3 separate regions of the Homo sapiens genome follow, and all the other regions are linked to region 1. The links are contacts of gene promoters, found by promoter capture Hi-C in human tissues and cell types (Jung and others, 2019). All regions are on one chromosome and are shown on one strand. Each heading gives the region's core, a stretch centred on a gene start or on the middle of the fragment in contact. The rest is flanking DNA. Distances are from core to core; before and after follow the strand shown.

Region 1 (4,911 bases), core at 1,294-3,793:
CCCTCTGGAATGGGGGAGAGGAGATGGTGGTGACAGCAATTGTCAAATGTGCTTGGTTGCCAGACTCCTGGCCAGTTGTATGATCATAAAATTGGAGCTTCAGTGGGTAGATTGATTTATGTGGATAATGTCTTTTAGAAAATCTTGGAGTTTTGGCTGGGCACAGTGGCTCATGCCTGTAATCCCAGCACTTTGGGAGGCAGAGGCAGAAAGATCCCTTGATCTCAAGAGTTCAAGATCAGCCTGGGTAATATAGCAAGACCCTGTCTCTACAAAAAAATACAAAAATTAGCCAGTCATGGTGGCACACACCTGTAGTCCCAGTTGCTTGGGAGGCTGAGGTGGGAGGGTAGCTTGAGTTCAGGAAGCGAAGGTTGTGGTGAGCCGAGATGGAGCCACTGCACATCAACCTGGGTAATAGAGCAAGATCTCTCTCAAAAAAATAAAGAAAAGAAAATCTTTGAGTTTTGTTTGTTTTATGAAAGGGCAGACTTTCCCCACCAGGGCTGTGGGGATGGAGGTGATGGTGGCAGAGAGGTATGAGCTAGAGGGCAGAGCCTGGGTGAGGTCAGACTCCTAGGTTATAGACATGATCCTGTCTTTACTGAATCACTGAGTGATTTTGCAAATCCTGCCCCTCTGGGTCTCAGTTTCCCTATCTGAAAGGCATGGGCCTAGATCCATTTGCACCTCACAGTCCCAGTGACTGCCACAGTGGCTCAGTGGTCACCCCCTGATGTGTCTGCTCAAGGGAAGCTAAAGCCCTGGTCCACTCCCTTCTTCTCCCCCAGGGCTGGGTCCGTGAAGTGGGAGGAGCAGGTGCTGCTAGGAAGGGTCATAAAGAGGCCAGTCTTCTTGGCTCCTGAGCCAACTGCCTCATCCCTGCTCGCTGTCCCTGTGGCCCTCTGTGCCTTCCAAAGGGTCTCATGAAACCCAAGTGCCAATGGGAGGGAGTGGTTGAGCAAGGTTGAGCCTCTTTTGTACAAGATGCATTGACAAGCCTTGGGTGAGGGATGGGGAAGTTTCCTGCCTGGGCCTCCTTGGATTCAGGAGCCCTTGGCTTCTGCCTTTCCCAGCCATGACCCACAGCTTTCCTGGCTTCATCCCCAACGCCCAGTGCATGACTTCACTCCTCTGGGACAGTTTCCACAGGTGTAAAATGAGATGCACAAACATGTCTTCCCAGACAGTTGGAAAGAATTAAAAATTAGATGTTGGATGCAAAAATCCTTCATAATGCACACAGTAGGGCTCCATAAATGCTCCTTCTCTTCACACTCACAGCCACTCTTGGCCCCATATGGGTCAGCAGGCAGGGGGCAGAGGAGACACCTTCCTCCTGGGTCTGGAGAGCCCCTGGTTTGCCCTTTGTGGCCAGGCTCAAAGGGGAGAGAAGTTTGACAGGACCTGGGCAGGGGAAGGGGTGGACTGGAGCCTGGCCAGGCCTTTACCCAAGTCCATGCTTTGACTTAAACCCCTCCAACCTTTTTTCAAGCTCCAGAGGTGGGAGAGAGCAGAACCTTATTCTCATCTCTCCCCAAAGGCCTCCCACCGTGTCAACTGATAGTGAGCCAAACAGATGTATGGTTAATGTCTAAACTGGGACACTTGCGAGGGTGAAAAGGACACAATTTGTAATGTATATACTGATCCGCTAGTGTCTATCAGTCAGTCCCAGCAAACCAACGTGTGCCATTGCTCCAGCTCATCATTTCCCATCCTAGCCACAGGCTCACTGGACCCTCAGAACATTCTGAGGCAACAATGCATGGGCGGCTCGTGGCCCATTTTACAGATATGAAATTAGAACTTTCCAGAAGCCATACTGCTGCTGGACAGGAAACCAGTTACTAATCATCTAAGTCACAGATCACAGTGACACTGTGGCACTTGCCTGTCCCTTCTGCTCACCCAAACCTCCCCATTTTGCTTTCATCTTAAGGAAAGGAGGAGAGTTGAAGACTCTACTAGCCTAAAGGTCCATGAAGCCTGACTCTGTCCCTGGTGTCACTCATTAGCCCCGTGACTTTGAGTAAGTAACTTAACTTCCCTGTCCCTCAGCTTCCTCATCTGTAGAATAGGAGTAACGACACCTGTCTCTCCAGGTTGAGAAAATAGGACACCTAGTTCAGGACCTGGCACATTTTAGGTGCTCAATAAATACTGATAGATTGAATAATTGGACTAATGGTGGCGTGGGCAACCCACAGTCAGTGAATAAATGTTAACTGAGCACCTACTATGTGTCAGGCTCTTTGTGCTAGATGTTTTCTATGCTCCATCTTCCTGAATTGCTCACACTCCTGTAAGAGAGGAGAGATTCTTATCCCCTAAGGTCGCACAGCAAAGACGACGCAGGGGGGTGGGCTGTTAGTGTTCCTTGCCCAACTGTGGAAAGGGAGTCCCAGAGAGGGCAGGTCGCTTGCCCAAGGTCACGCAGAAAGCCGAGGGTTTCCGTCGCGAACCCCCCTCCCCACTCGCTCAGGGCTCTCCAATCCGCAGCTCTGCGTGCGGGGGCGCGCGCATCCCCCCGCCGTCCGTCCGTCAGCTGTCTGTCTGGGTGTCTATGCGGGCGCAGCAGTGCACCCTTCCCCAGCCTCGGGCGCTGCGCAGGGACAGACAAGGCATTCGCAGCGCCCTGCCCGCGCTCCACGCCCGCAGCCGCCAGACGGCAGCGCCTGCGTCCGTGCCCGCCCCAGCCGGTGCGCGGGAGCCGCGGGGGCAAAGGCGCAGTGGCCAGCGGACCATCTCTCGTGCCCTCGCTCTCTGCGCTCCGGGGCAGCTGAGCCCCGGCCACCCGCTCTCCAAGATGAAGAAGCTCCAGGGAGCTCACCTCCGCAAGGTAGGGCACGAGGGCGGGGGCGCTGGGGGTGCACCTGGAGGAGGGTTGGAGAGACCCGCCCCCAACGAGGCCCCTGGGGAAGGTCTGAGGATGCACCCAGACCAGCTTCGGGCTCTGGGGAAGGCCCGACTCAGCTGGATAACAGGGAGGGTCAGGGTCACGGTCTGCGCCCCCACCTCTGCCCCTGCCATCTGGGGTTCGGGATGTAGTATGAGGGGAGTCCTGGTTCACTGGGCCAGGCCTATGAACAGGTGTCTGCAGTCCCCGGAGGCGCGGGGTAGGGGCGGCCGGGGCCAGGCACCCACCTCTTCCCCAATTCCACCCTGCTGCTCCCCGCCAGGAGCTGATTGCCGGGTGTGGGGGGTATTGGAATACCTGAGCGTTGAGCTGGACTCATCTGAGGGGTGGGGAGTGGGAGGCGGTCATCCATACTGAAGCCGGCTCCCTGAGCCTGCGGGAAGACTCTCCTCTTTCCTGCCTGCTCCCTCCCCGCCCCCTTAGCTTGCCTGCTGAGACCCCAGGCTGCCCCTCAGCAGGGCTGAAGGGAGGCAAAGACAGGGAGGGGGCTATCGGAGGCAGGAGGATATGATCAATGAAGATGGAAGCTGGTATGGGAGAGTGGCTGTGGGCCCAGACCTCAGGCTCTCCCTACCTTGCCTTGTGGGATTGGACCTCTCAGCCAAGCTGTCAGGATATGGGGAGGGGGAATACTGGGGGACGTTTTCTGGCTTGTACCAGTCCTAACTAAGGAGTCAGATCTCCTGAATACTATTTCTGCCGCTGCCACTTGCCTGGTGACTTTGGACAAGTTCATTCTCTAACCTGAACCTCCTCTGGCTAAGCCCTAGCCTGGAGGCACCAAAACAGGCCCCACTGGGTGTGTGAGGTGTGGGGAAGAATGCTAAAGGGCTGGTAGATGTGAGAAGACTGTTCTCAGGGGCTGGTGTTATCAACCTCCCTACATACACACACATTCACACTCACACTCACTCACACACACACTCATTCATTCAAGTTCTCTGCTCTGGGGCAGCTGGGCTTGGAACCACTGTGGTGTGTCTTTTTTCTTTTTCTTGTTTTTTTTTTTTGAGACGGAGTCTCGCTCTGTCACCCAGGTTGGAGTGCAGTGGTGTGATCTCGGCTCACTGCAAGCTCTGCCTCCCGGGTTCACGCCATTCTCCTGCCTCAGCCTCCCGAGTAGCTGGGACTATAGGCGCCCGCCACCACGCCTGGCTAATGTTTTGTATTTTTAGTAGAGACGGGGTTTCACCGTGTTAGCCAGGATGGTCTTGATCTTCTGACCTCGTGATCCGCCCGCCTCGGCCTCCCAAAGTGCTGGGATTACAGGTGTGAGTCACTGCGCCCAGCTGGTATGTCTTTTTTATTCACTGACATGAGTGACTTCTTGAGACCATTTGTGAGTCTCTTGGGTCCTGTTTCCATTCTTTTCCACTCTCCTTCTCTTCCCTCTCTGCCCTCCCTCCCCACAAGAGGCCCTGTCCCTCTTGCTGGGTGCTGGGCTGGGGGGTTAGCAAGCTTTATCTCATTTAATCCTTTAACACTTCCAGGGGCTAGGTCTTAGTAGCCCCACTTTATAAATAAGGCAACTGAGGCACAGAGGGGTGAGACTCACTGCTTACCTGCTGGCAGGCTAGGCAACCTAGAGCCAACAGGGCAGAGGGTTGGTTCTAGGTTGCTACCTCCTCTCAGGGTCCTTTCCCTTTTCTCAAGCAGAATTGGGCGGGAATGAGAAAATGCCAGATTTCCGCAAAGGAGCAGCATTGCTCAGAGATGAACACTGGACTTAGAGTCAGGGGATCTAGGTCCAAGTCTTGCTGTGCCTTTAACTTGCTGTTTGACCTTGGGCTCATCCCTTCTTCCTGAAACTTGGTTTCCTAATCTGCACAATGATGAAGCTGGACCCCAGATTCCTATTGTCTCTCTCTGTCCTGAAGAGTCTTGGCTTGGGCAGTCTTGAGTCTCCCAGCCCCTGCTGTGAGTCCCTAAAGGCGAGCATGCAGGTCTGACAAACTCAGCTGTGTGTTCCTGCATGCCCCTGGGGTAGGGAG
Region 2 (4,911 bases), core at 1,131-3,630, 120 kb after region 1:
CTCTTTATATCTATTATCTCACTAAATTCTTACCTACCTATAAGGTAGGTAAAATTATTATCATTATCTGCATCTTGCCCATGGAGAAACCGAGAAACACAGAAAGGGTGAGTAACTTGCCCAAAGTCACACAGCTAGAAAGTGTCAAGGCCATGATTTGAATATAGGTGTCAAACCTATTGCCTGCTGCATTAAAGTCCCCACCATATGCTCTCCTGTCACCAAGCCTGTGAATGGGGTCCCCTCTGCACTTGAGTGGTTAGATGCCAACGCTCCCAATGCACTGGAATGCCCTGGCAGTGGGCCCCAGAGGCCTGAGAGGTCTGAGTGGGCCTAGGAGTGACATGAGTGCATGCTCTGGGAGACGCCCTCCACCCCCTGCCACGCTGGGATGCTGGGTGGAGCTGCCTCCAGCACTGCTCTGCTCCTCCCAGACTGAGTGGGAATTGATCCATCTTGGAAGCCGCTCTCAGGCTTGTCCCCTGCCCTTCCCATTCCCTCCTTGAGGCTCCCTTGCCTGCTCCAATAGCTTCAGGATGTCCCAAAGCCCCTTGAGGCAGAGGCTTCCTCTGGCTTTCTATGTTCTCAGACCCAGATGTCACCTGTCAGCTCTGCCTCCCTGTGAAATGAGAGTCAGTCTCTCGGGGCAGCAATCTTGCTGGGTTTTTCTTCTAAGGGATAGCACAACCCAGCCCCCGCTGCCTCCTGGCCTTGGCTAGACTGCTCAAAGCCAGAGATGCTCTCTAATGACAGGGATGAGGCTTGCCTCTGTTCCCATGGCAACTACTGTGCTCTGCTAAGTCAATCACTTTTGAAGTCCCTGCTGGTGCTAAAGTTATTTTGCATAGAAGTGCTGAACCCTTATCCAAGAACTCTGTTCTGAGTCTTTAGATCCTTTCAGGTCTCTTAAAAGTTGATTTTCCCTTTCCCTTCCTTTGTTGAAGTCCTTTAATCTTTAAAGCCCAGCTCAAATCCCACCGCTTCCAAGAGACTTTTCTAGACCTCCTCCTCCCTTCCTTCCCTATTCAGTCAATCTCTTGCTCTCCACAGTCCCCTGGGGCATGTTTATGGTTCTATTAGATCACAGTCTGCCTGTTTCAGAGTTATTTATGTGTCTCTTTCTGAGCCCCTGGTGAGTGATCAGCCCATAGTAGGTGCTAAACAAACATTTGTTTGAATTTATTTGAATTTCCTTTCAGGGTTTTAAATATTTTCTATTATTAATAGTACAGGCCGTTACTAATAATCCCTTACACTTGTAAAATTATTTACAGTTTATATATAGCTTCATGCTTGAGGGTACTGCTTTAAACCCCAGCTCCACCCTTCCTAGCTGTGTGACCAGTATACAAGCCTTGTAGCCTCTCTCAACCTGCTTCTCATCAGTAACGTGGATTGTGGTAACGATAAAACTAAATGTGTAAAGGGTTTACTTAGCACAGGGCCGGATGTCCAGTGATCCTTCAATAAATGTTAATTATTATCATAACTCATGATCTTGTTTGGACCTCACGAAAGCTCTGGGATGTAAAAGGGGCAGGAATTTTGTTAGTGTCATCATTGTTATCAATGACATATGAAGAGACTGAAGCTTAGAGAAGGTAAGAGTTGCCTAGGTGTTCAGACTTTAGTCAAATACTGTGATGGGCACCTATTGTCTGCCTTGCAGCTGCTCCCCTTTCTTGGAAACAGAACCTAGATTTTCTTTGATGGGTTTCCACTGATGGGTTGACTCCAGGAGCAGGCTTGGACAATTAGAGCATCAAATGTCCCTGGTCAAAGTGATTAGTTCAGGAATGCACAAGTGACCTAAGACTGTCTAGTGAGACTCAATTCTGAGAATTTTGTTTGGATTTTTGAGAACAAGATTGTTCATTGTCTCTTTGCTGCTAGACTTGGAGCAAGAAGATTAGAAGCCTGGACCTGCCTGGAGCTAACTGTAGTGAAGAGAAAAAAAGCAAAGTGAGAGGTAAAGACAGATTCCCAATAACACCATTTGAGTACATGGGTCCTTTCCAGTCCTACCTGAAGCTAGAACTACTCCCCTGGACTTCAGTTATGGGAACAATACGTTCCTTCTTTCTTACACCAATTTGTGTTGACATCTGTCACTTGCTACTGGATGAGTACCAACTACTGCGAGAATGCTGTCTTATCCACACAGAAATCAAGGATCTCTTTATCCAATTCATTTGCTCAACAAGCACTTACTGAGCAACTATTATGTGCCTTTCACTCACTGGGACTAAGACTACAGATATGGACAAGACAAACCACCTGGCCCTCTTGGAGTTGATGGTCCATTGTCATTCCCTTAGACTTGTGAAGACACTGAGGCTCAGAGAGGAGAACACCCCAAAATATGTGTCCTTCACATGATTAAGAGTGCCTCGGTCCTGAATGAAGCTGGGCTGGAGCTGAGGCAGGCAGTGGTAATTGGCTGGTCACTGGCAGGAAGAGCTGGTTTAGGGATTAGTGAGTTTCTGCTCAGCAGGAAGCTTCCAGACCAACGCTGGCAGTTGGACCTGGAGGCTGAGCCCTCGTCCCCTGGATCCAGGACTTCAGGCAGGGGATAGTTTCCTGCGAGCAGCATGGCTCCAAGGTCTCATTTGAGGGTGTCAATTCCCATGCTCCTGGCTTTATGGGTGGACTCGCTTTGGTCTGGAATTCTGATTATGAAGAGGCCTTTCAGCATCAAGATTACCCTGGAGGGAGGCTTCATCTCACAGGGATTTTCAATATGCTTATCAAAGGGAAAAGCCCCATCTTATAGCCTAACCTGAGCCTAGTTTTTTCCTTTATCCTATGACCCACCCTTGGGAGAACCTAGTCTCTTGGGCAAACCCAGTCTCTCAGGGCCAGGTCTCTCACGGAGGTTGTGATACCTAGAAATTGGATTTGCACTCAGCTGGCTTAGTTTTTCTCTGCCTCCTCAGTTCCTAGCACAGACCCTGGCTTATAGTAGATGAGTAAGTCTGTATCTCATGAATGTTCGTAGGATTTTTTTTTTTTTTTTGAGACAGAATCTTGCTCTGTCACCCAGATTGGAGTGCAATTACGCGATCTCAGCTCACCGCAACCTCCGCCTCCCTGGTTCAAGCGATTCTCCTGCCTCAGCCTCCCAAGTAGCTGGGATTACAGGCGCCTGCCAGCATGCCCAGCTAATTTTTTTTTTTTTTTTTTTTTTGTATTTTTAGTAGAGACAGGGTTTCACCCTGTTGGTCAGGATGGTCTCGAACTCCTGACAATCAGGTAATCCACCAGCCTCAGCCTCCCAACGTGCTGGAATTACAGGTGTGAGCCACCACGCCCAGCCTGCTCATACGATTATTTTAAGATAGGGAGAGGCACCCATTCTGAGACAGATTGACCATGAAATTAGTACAGCTTAAGCTTCCAGACCCCTCCCTAGCACAGGGTCCTCTCTAATCCCTGAGGGGGGCTCCGACACTGTGTTCACATGATCACGTATCTGAAAGTTGAGCCCGTCATCTTAACTGCAATCAGTTGTGATCAATGACTCTTGCCTCTGACCTCTTCACTGTTATTTTCCTCAGGACAGATGGCTTTAGAAGGACTGTGGCATTTTGGGGGTCTGGCTCACGGGAAGTTGAACTGGGGATACATGCACAGTTAAGTCGGCTGTCTCGGTATAGAAATGTCTTCCAGGGCTCTTGCTGTCTGCTGAGCTGACTCACTTGACATATTATGACACAAAGGTGCAGGCCCCAAGCTTGGATGGCAGCGTGAAGGTGTCTTCCAGTCCCCGGCAATAGAAGTATATGTGTCGGAGAAGAGGGACAATTTTGAAATCTAAGGAGCCAAGAGCTAAGCTGTGGAAAATTCTTCCAATTATCAGACCTGTAAAATTCTAAGCAAAAGACTCAGTGCTCAAAGATGCTTAAGCAAAATGGAAATTATTTCCTGTCAGGAATATTCTACAATACAGTACATATCATTATAAATACACACACCAAAACCTTTTTCTTTCTTTCTTTCTTTTTTTTTTTTTTTCCTAGCCCTGGCTAGGACTTTTCTTTTTCTTTTTTCTTTTTTTTTGAGATAAAGTCTCACTGTGTCTCCCAGGCTGGAGTGCAATGGCATGATCTCTGCTCACTGCAACCTCCGCTTCCCGGGTTCAAGCAATTCTCCTGCCTCAGCCTCCTGAGTAGCTGGGACTAGAGGTGCACAGCACCATGCCTGGCTAATTTTTGTATTTTTCATAGAGACGGGGTTTAACCATGTTGGCCAGGCTGGTCTCAAACTTCTGGCCTCAAGTGATCTGCCTGCCTCTCAGCCTCCCAAAGTGCTGGGATCACAGGCATGAGCCACCATGCCTGGACTTCTGTTTTCTTTTTCTTTTTTTGATGGATATCATGTTATGGGTTGAATTATGTCCCCACCCCTCAAAAAAAAAAAAAAATAAAAAAACAAGAAATGTTTAAACCCCACCTACCTCAGAATGTGTCAGAATGTAGACCTGATCTGGAAATAGGATTTTTACAGAGATAATCAAGTTAAAATGAGGTCATTAGGGTAGGCCCTTAATCCAATATGACTGGTATTCTTATAAAAAGGGGAAATTTGGACACAGGCAGACGTGCAAAAGAAGAACACCAAGCTTTGATGAAGGCGAGATTAGCGTGACACATCTCCAAGCCAGGGAGCACCAGAGATTGCCAACAAACCACCAGAGGCTGGGGGAGAGGCCCGGAACAGATTCCCTCATGGCCTTAGAAGGAATCAACCCTGCCAACACCTTGATCTCCAACTTTTAGCCTCCAGGACTGAGAAATTAGATCGCTTGCTAAGTTTATGGTATTTTGTTATGGCAGCCCTAGCAAGCCAATAGCACGTGAAGGAGAATTTACCAGAAAACCCATGTCTGTGGCCCACCAACCAGCAGCAGCA
Region 3 (4,911 bases), core at 1,198-3,697, 85 kb before region 1:
TTGCATAGATAAGAAAAAGGAAGGTCAAGGAGGGTTTGTGACTTATCTCAGCTCACACAGCTACTTTGGGGAAGACTCAGAGCCAGAATCCGAATTTTCTGAGTCGAAGGCCTAGGTAGCTGGGCGCCACTCCCCACTACTTGGATTGTCTGGCCAATACCATTCCCTGTGCCCCTTGGCGCATTTCTGACAGGTCACCTGCATCCATCTGTTGTGGGAAGCAGTTAGCCCATGCTTCCCTATCTGGCCCAGATCTGCCTCTCTGTGACACCCACCTGTTGCTCTGGACCCTCAGGCAGCTCTGTTCCCTGTCCCTCGACAGGCCTCCAGTGATGCAGACAGCACTTGTGGTCCCCGGAGGTACTACTTCTCCAGGGTGAGCACTCTGGTTTCTTAGTAGTCTTTCCTGGGACATGGTCTCCAAGCACATCTGGCCTCCCTTACTCTCATCAGATCAACAACATGCAAGGTCATCAATGTGACATTAACTTCTTAAAGTCCAACACATTTGGAAGCAAGCCCCTAAGTGTTGTAACATAAGCACAATCAGATGGCGCTGGGGAACAGAAGATGGAGAGTCTGTGAGGCCTTCCAGAGCAGTGGCATTGGAGCTGGGCCTTGAAGGAGGAGCAGCAACCCTTCAGGCAGAAAGGAAATCCCAGGAGAGGGAATAGCATAGGGGCAGAGAGGGTGAAAAATCAGGACTCTCTGGGGCCAACCAGAGTGTGAAGGAATGGAGTGGAGATGGGAGTAGAAAGGGGGTGAGGTCCAAGTACTAAGAGTACCTGACAACCTGGCAGGGTGCCAGGGCTTGATCCTATAGGCCATGGGTCCTTAATGGCCTGGAGGCCTCTAGAGGGGTGCACCTCCAAGTGCAGTTCAGGGACCCCAGCCTCAGAATCACAGGGGTAACTGTTAAAATGAAGACTCCAGGACCATCCCAGGCCTGCTGACTTAGGGGTGGGAGGGGGGTACCTGCACAGGTAACAAGCTCTCTAGCGGATTCTCATGCTCCCTCTGGCTGAGGCCACTGCCTTTGAGAGTCCCTGGATGGCCTTGAGGAAACCTGGGCACCCCTAACACGGATGCAAAGTTTGTGTGTGATCTTGCCCAGCTTTCATGCAATTCTCACCAAGTCCCTGACCCAGGCTGGCAGAGACCCCTCTCTGGTGGAACATGTTTAGGTGGAGGAGGGGTATAACCAGCAAGAGGGGTGGAGGCTACAGTAGTCCTGAGGGATGGCCTAGGCCACCTTGGCAGGACCTGTCTCTGTCCCCACGATCAAAGGATGCTGCTTGTCCTGTCATTTCTATCCATCCAGCTAATTCCTATAGCTCCTTCAGACTCGCTGCCTCCTGGAAGCCTCCCTGTTCCTGCCAGATGGGCAGGTATCCTTATTATGCATCCCAGGCCTTTTGGGCTCAACCGCATCCCAGCATTTTCCTTGCATGGCAGGCTTCAAAGGTTTATCAGGTGCTCACTATGTGAAAGGCAGCACGCCCAGTGCTCTTTGGAATTTTCTCATTGAATCCTCAACTCTAGAGGTAGGTGTGGTTATTATCCTTGTTTTACTGAAGAGCAAACCAAGGCTCAGAGAAGTTAAGTCACTTTCCCAAGATCACACAGCTGGTGAGGGCATTTCTGCCTCCTATGGTACAGGTATACCTGACCATTCTGATCCACTGATTTTAGATGTATGAAGAGTGAATGAATTAATGAATGAATGCTGTATGCCAAAGCCCCGTGAGTAGGAAGGTACTCTGTCCTCCTGGAAAAAATGGCATTTAGAGGCCTAATCCTTACTCTTTTGTTCATTTGTTCTTTTTTTTTTTGAGATGGAGTTTCATTCTGTCACCCAGGCTGGAGTGCAGTGGCGTGATCTCAGCTCACTGCAACCTCCACCTCCTGGGTTCAAGTGATTCTCTTGCCTCAGCCTCCTGAGTAGCTGGGACTATAGGCACCCACCACCACGCCCAGCTAATTTTTTAATATTTTTGACAGAGGCTGGGTGCAGTGGCTCACACCTATAATCCCAGCACTTTGGGAGGCCCAGGCAGGTGGATCACGAGATCAGGAGATGGAGACCAGCCTGGCTAACACAGTGAAACCCTGTCTCTCCTAAAAATACAAAACATCAGCCAGGCGTGGTGGCACGTGGCTGTAGTCCCAGCTGCTCAGGAGGCTGAGGCAGGAGAATCACTTGAACCCAGGAGGCGGAGGTTGCAGTGAGCCAACATTGTGCCACTGCACTCCAGCCTGGGTGACAGAGAGAGACTCTGTCTCAAAAAAAAAAAAAAAAATATATATATATATATATATATTTTTTTTTTTTTAATAGAGGCGGGGTTACCATGTTGGCGAGGCTGATCTCGAACTCCTGACCTCAAGTGATCTGCCCGTTTTGGCTTCCCAAAATGCTGGGGTTACAGGCGTGAGCCACTACACCTGGCCTCTTTTTTTTCTTTTTCCCTTTTTTTATAGGCAAGTCTCATTCTGTTGCCAGGCTAGAGTACAGTGTCAGAGTTACAGCTCACTGAAGCCTCAAACTCCTGGGCTCAAGCAATCCTCCTGCCTCAGCCTCCTGAGTAGTTAGGACTACAGGCACACACCGCCCACTTGACTAATTTTCTATTTCTTTTTGTTGAGACAGGGTCTCACTGTGTTGCTCCAGCTGGTCTCAAACTCCTCCTGGCATCAAGCGATCCTCCTGCCTTGGCTTCCCAAAGGGCTGAGATTACATGTGTGAGCCACCACACTGGACTCCCTAATATTTTCTGAGTGCTGTTTATGTGCCAGGCACCACAGCAGGCTCTTTCCATATTTATCTAATTTAGTGCTTTTAACACATGAGGCTGATTCTATTAATTACGCCATTTTGCCGATGAGGAAACCAAGGCTCAGAGAGGTTAGTTCACTTGCCCAAAGTCCCAGAGCCAGGGAATGACAGAGCTGAGACTGGAAGCAGGCAGCCTGGCTGCAGAGCCTACGCTAATGACCAGCACACTGCACAGGGCGATCCTGACCTCCCCCAGCAGTGGGTGTGCTGACCGCTAGTGGACACAGAGTGGGGAAGTGCCATGGGACTCAGTGGGGTAAGCCCTGACTGAGGAAGCCTTGGTGATGCTGCCGGGAAGGTGACAAACAAGAATCCCAGATTGACATTACCCCTTCCTGTGGCAGAGGAACTTTGAGAGGAGTTTGCATGACAGCCCAAGGATTAGGAAACTCTGAAGAAATGTGTGGGCCATGTCACACTTCACATACTGAGAGCCTAGTTTTCATCTCCCTGCCTGACTCCTGGACCCTGGAACCTCCAGACCCCAGGTCAAGGACAGCTTAGCCCCCACCCTCCTGCCCAGTTAACCCCAACTGCAGCCCATGCCCTGGGACCCAGGAGGTTCCCCACCAGAGAGTGGAGTGGGCCCAAGCTAGGAGCCAGGGACCCAGACAGAATAATGGCAATTTGGCAACTGGTTCCTCTTTGACCCTGGACCACAAAGGTTCGACCACACCTATCTCTAGGCCTGAGGATTGAGCTCTAGTGTCTGAATTGGAGTACTATGGGGTATTTGCTCCCATTACTATTGCAGCTCCATAGAGCAGATCAAGGCCATACCCTGTAGCAGGGCTTACAGGGGCCTTTGCAATCTGATCTCTGCCTCTTCTCTCTCCATCCACCCTCCCTGCTGTACTGAACACTTGCAGCTCCTGCATACACCCCCACACTCCTTCTTCCTGTTCCACATACTTCTGCTTCCACCTGGCCCATAAGCCTCCCTTTGCCTGACTGAGTCCCTGTCTTATAGTCTCTCGTGGCTCCCTGAGTTTCCTGGCACTTCTCGCTGTCAACAGAAGCACAGTTATGAGAGTGGTTATTGGTGTGATGTCATTCTGACCCCTTTGTTCTGCAGCAGGAGTTTCCTGGTAGGGCCAGTCTCCCTTCCGGTCTTCTTTATACCCTCTACACCTGGCCCTGCCTGGCAGATGAGTGCTCAGTCAATGCCAGATGCATGAAGAAATGTATAAACAATCCAATGAATGAATGAATAAATGAAGAGCAAGGAGAAGCTCTCCACCCTCCAAAAGCAATTTATTCAGCAAATGCTTCATGTGTCAGGCCTTGTTCTGGGCCCAGGAAGGCCAAGGCTCAGAGCACTTTCCTGCATGCAGGGACCTCACCGCCTGGTGGGAGGTAAGGCAAGTAGCTAAGTGGTGTTATACAGTGCAGCTGATAATATCTGACATCTATGGACATTAACATGATTTGTCATCCAATTTGGAACCTTTGAGACTGGAAGGGGTGCTATTAATAATTGCATTAACACAGGGGCATGAAGAAGGACTGTTCTGGTTGATCCATTGGGCACACTCTTCATGCCAGTCTCTGGACTGAGCTATTTGCACAGATCATCTCATTGATTCTCCCAGCCACCTTAGGGGAAAGCTGTAATTACTCCATGTTACAGATGAAGAAAGACAGGCTCAAAGATGGTAAGTAACCTGCCTGGAGTTAAACAGCTAAGTGGCAGAGCTGGGTTTTAAACCCTGGAACCCAGAGCCAGAGCCCACATGTTCAACCACTGTCTTTCATCAATGGCAGGGGCTCTCAGGAGGATCGAGGGTAAAGGGGAACAGCCTAGGCTTTGGAGCCAGATAGACCAGGAATTCATTCCCCACTCCTAACCACAGCCAGGTCCCCGGCCTTTCAAGGCCTTGTTTCTTCATTATGTAAAATGGGGAAGGGGCTATTGACTCAGATCCAGTGAGACAATAATGCAGGTGAAGGGCATGCAACAGATATTTCTCAATCACTGTCCCTGGCCCTGGGGACATGGTGGTGAACAGGTCAGCTGTGGTCCCTCCCTTCTGCAACTCACAGCCTATTGTCAGAGCCAGGAGAGGAACCAGGCC

The links. Contacts are between HindIII fragments. The study calls those that stand out against the background at their distance.
Region 2: a fragment that was not itself captured here is called in contact with the fragment with the promoter of SLC6A7 in region 1 in 2 of the 25 tissues and cell types used here (H1 embryonic stem cells and spleen).
Region 3: a fragment that was not itself captured here is called in contact with the fragment with the promoter of SLC6A7 in region 1 in 2 of the 25 tissues and cell types used here (H1 embryonic stem cells and bladder).

What each region holds. Positions count from the first base shown.
Region 1 is chr5:150,187,519-150,192,429 of GRCh38, forward strand. SLC6A7 (solute carrier family 6 member 7) reads left to right here and starts at 2,544. Exons shown (of 14, transcript NM_014228.5): 1 at 2,544-2,842. The coding sequence starts at 2,810. The HindIII fragment of the contact is 16,922 bases long and covers 1-4,911 here.
Region 2 is chr5:150,309,020-150,313,930 of GRCh38, forward strand. No RefSeq gene overlaps it. Among named protein-coding and RNA genes, the nearest start is that of ARSI, 8.6 kb to the left of the region's middle. RefSeq lists enhancers at 1-526, 527-1,160. The HindIII fragment of the contact is 3,593 bases long and covers 585-4,177 here.
Region 3 is chr5:150,103,065-150,107,975 of GRCh38, forward strand. It overlaps a transcript of CSF1R not described here. Among named protein-coding and RNA genes, the nearest start is that of CSF1R, 19 kb to the left of the region's middle. The HindIII fragment of the contact is 7,045 bases long and covers 1-4,911 here.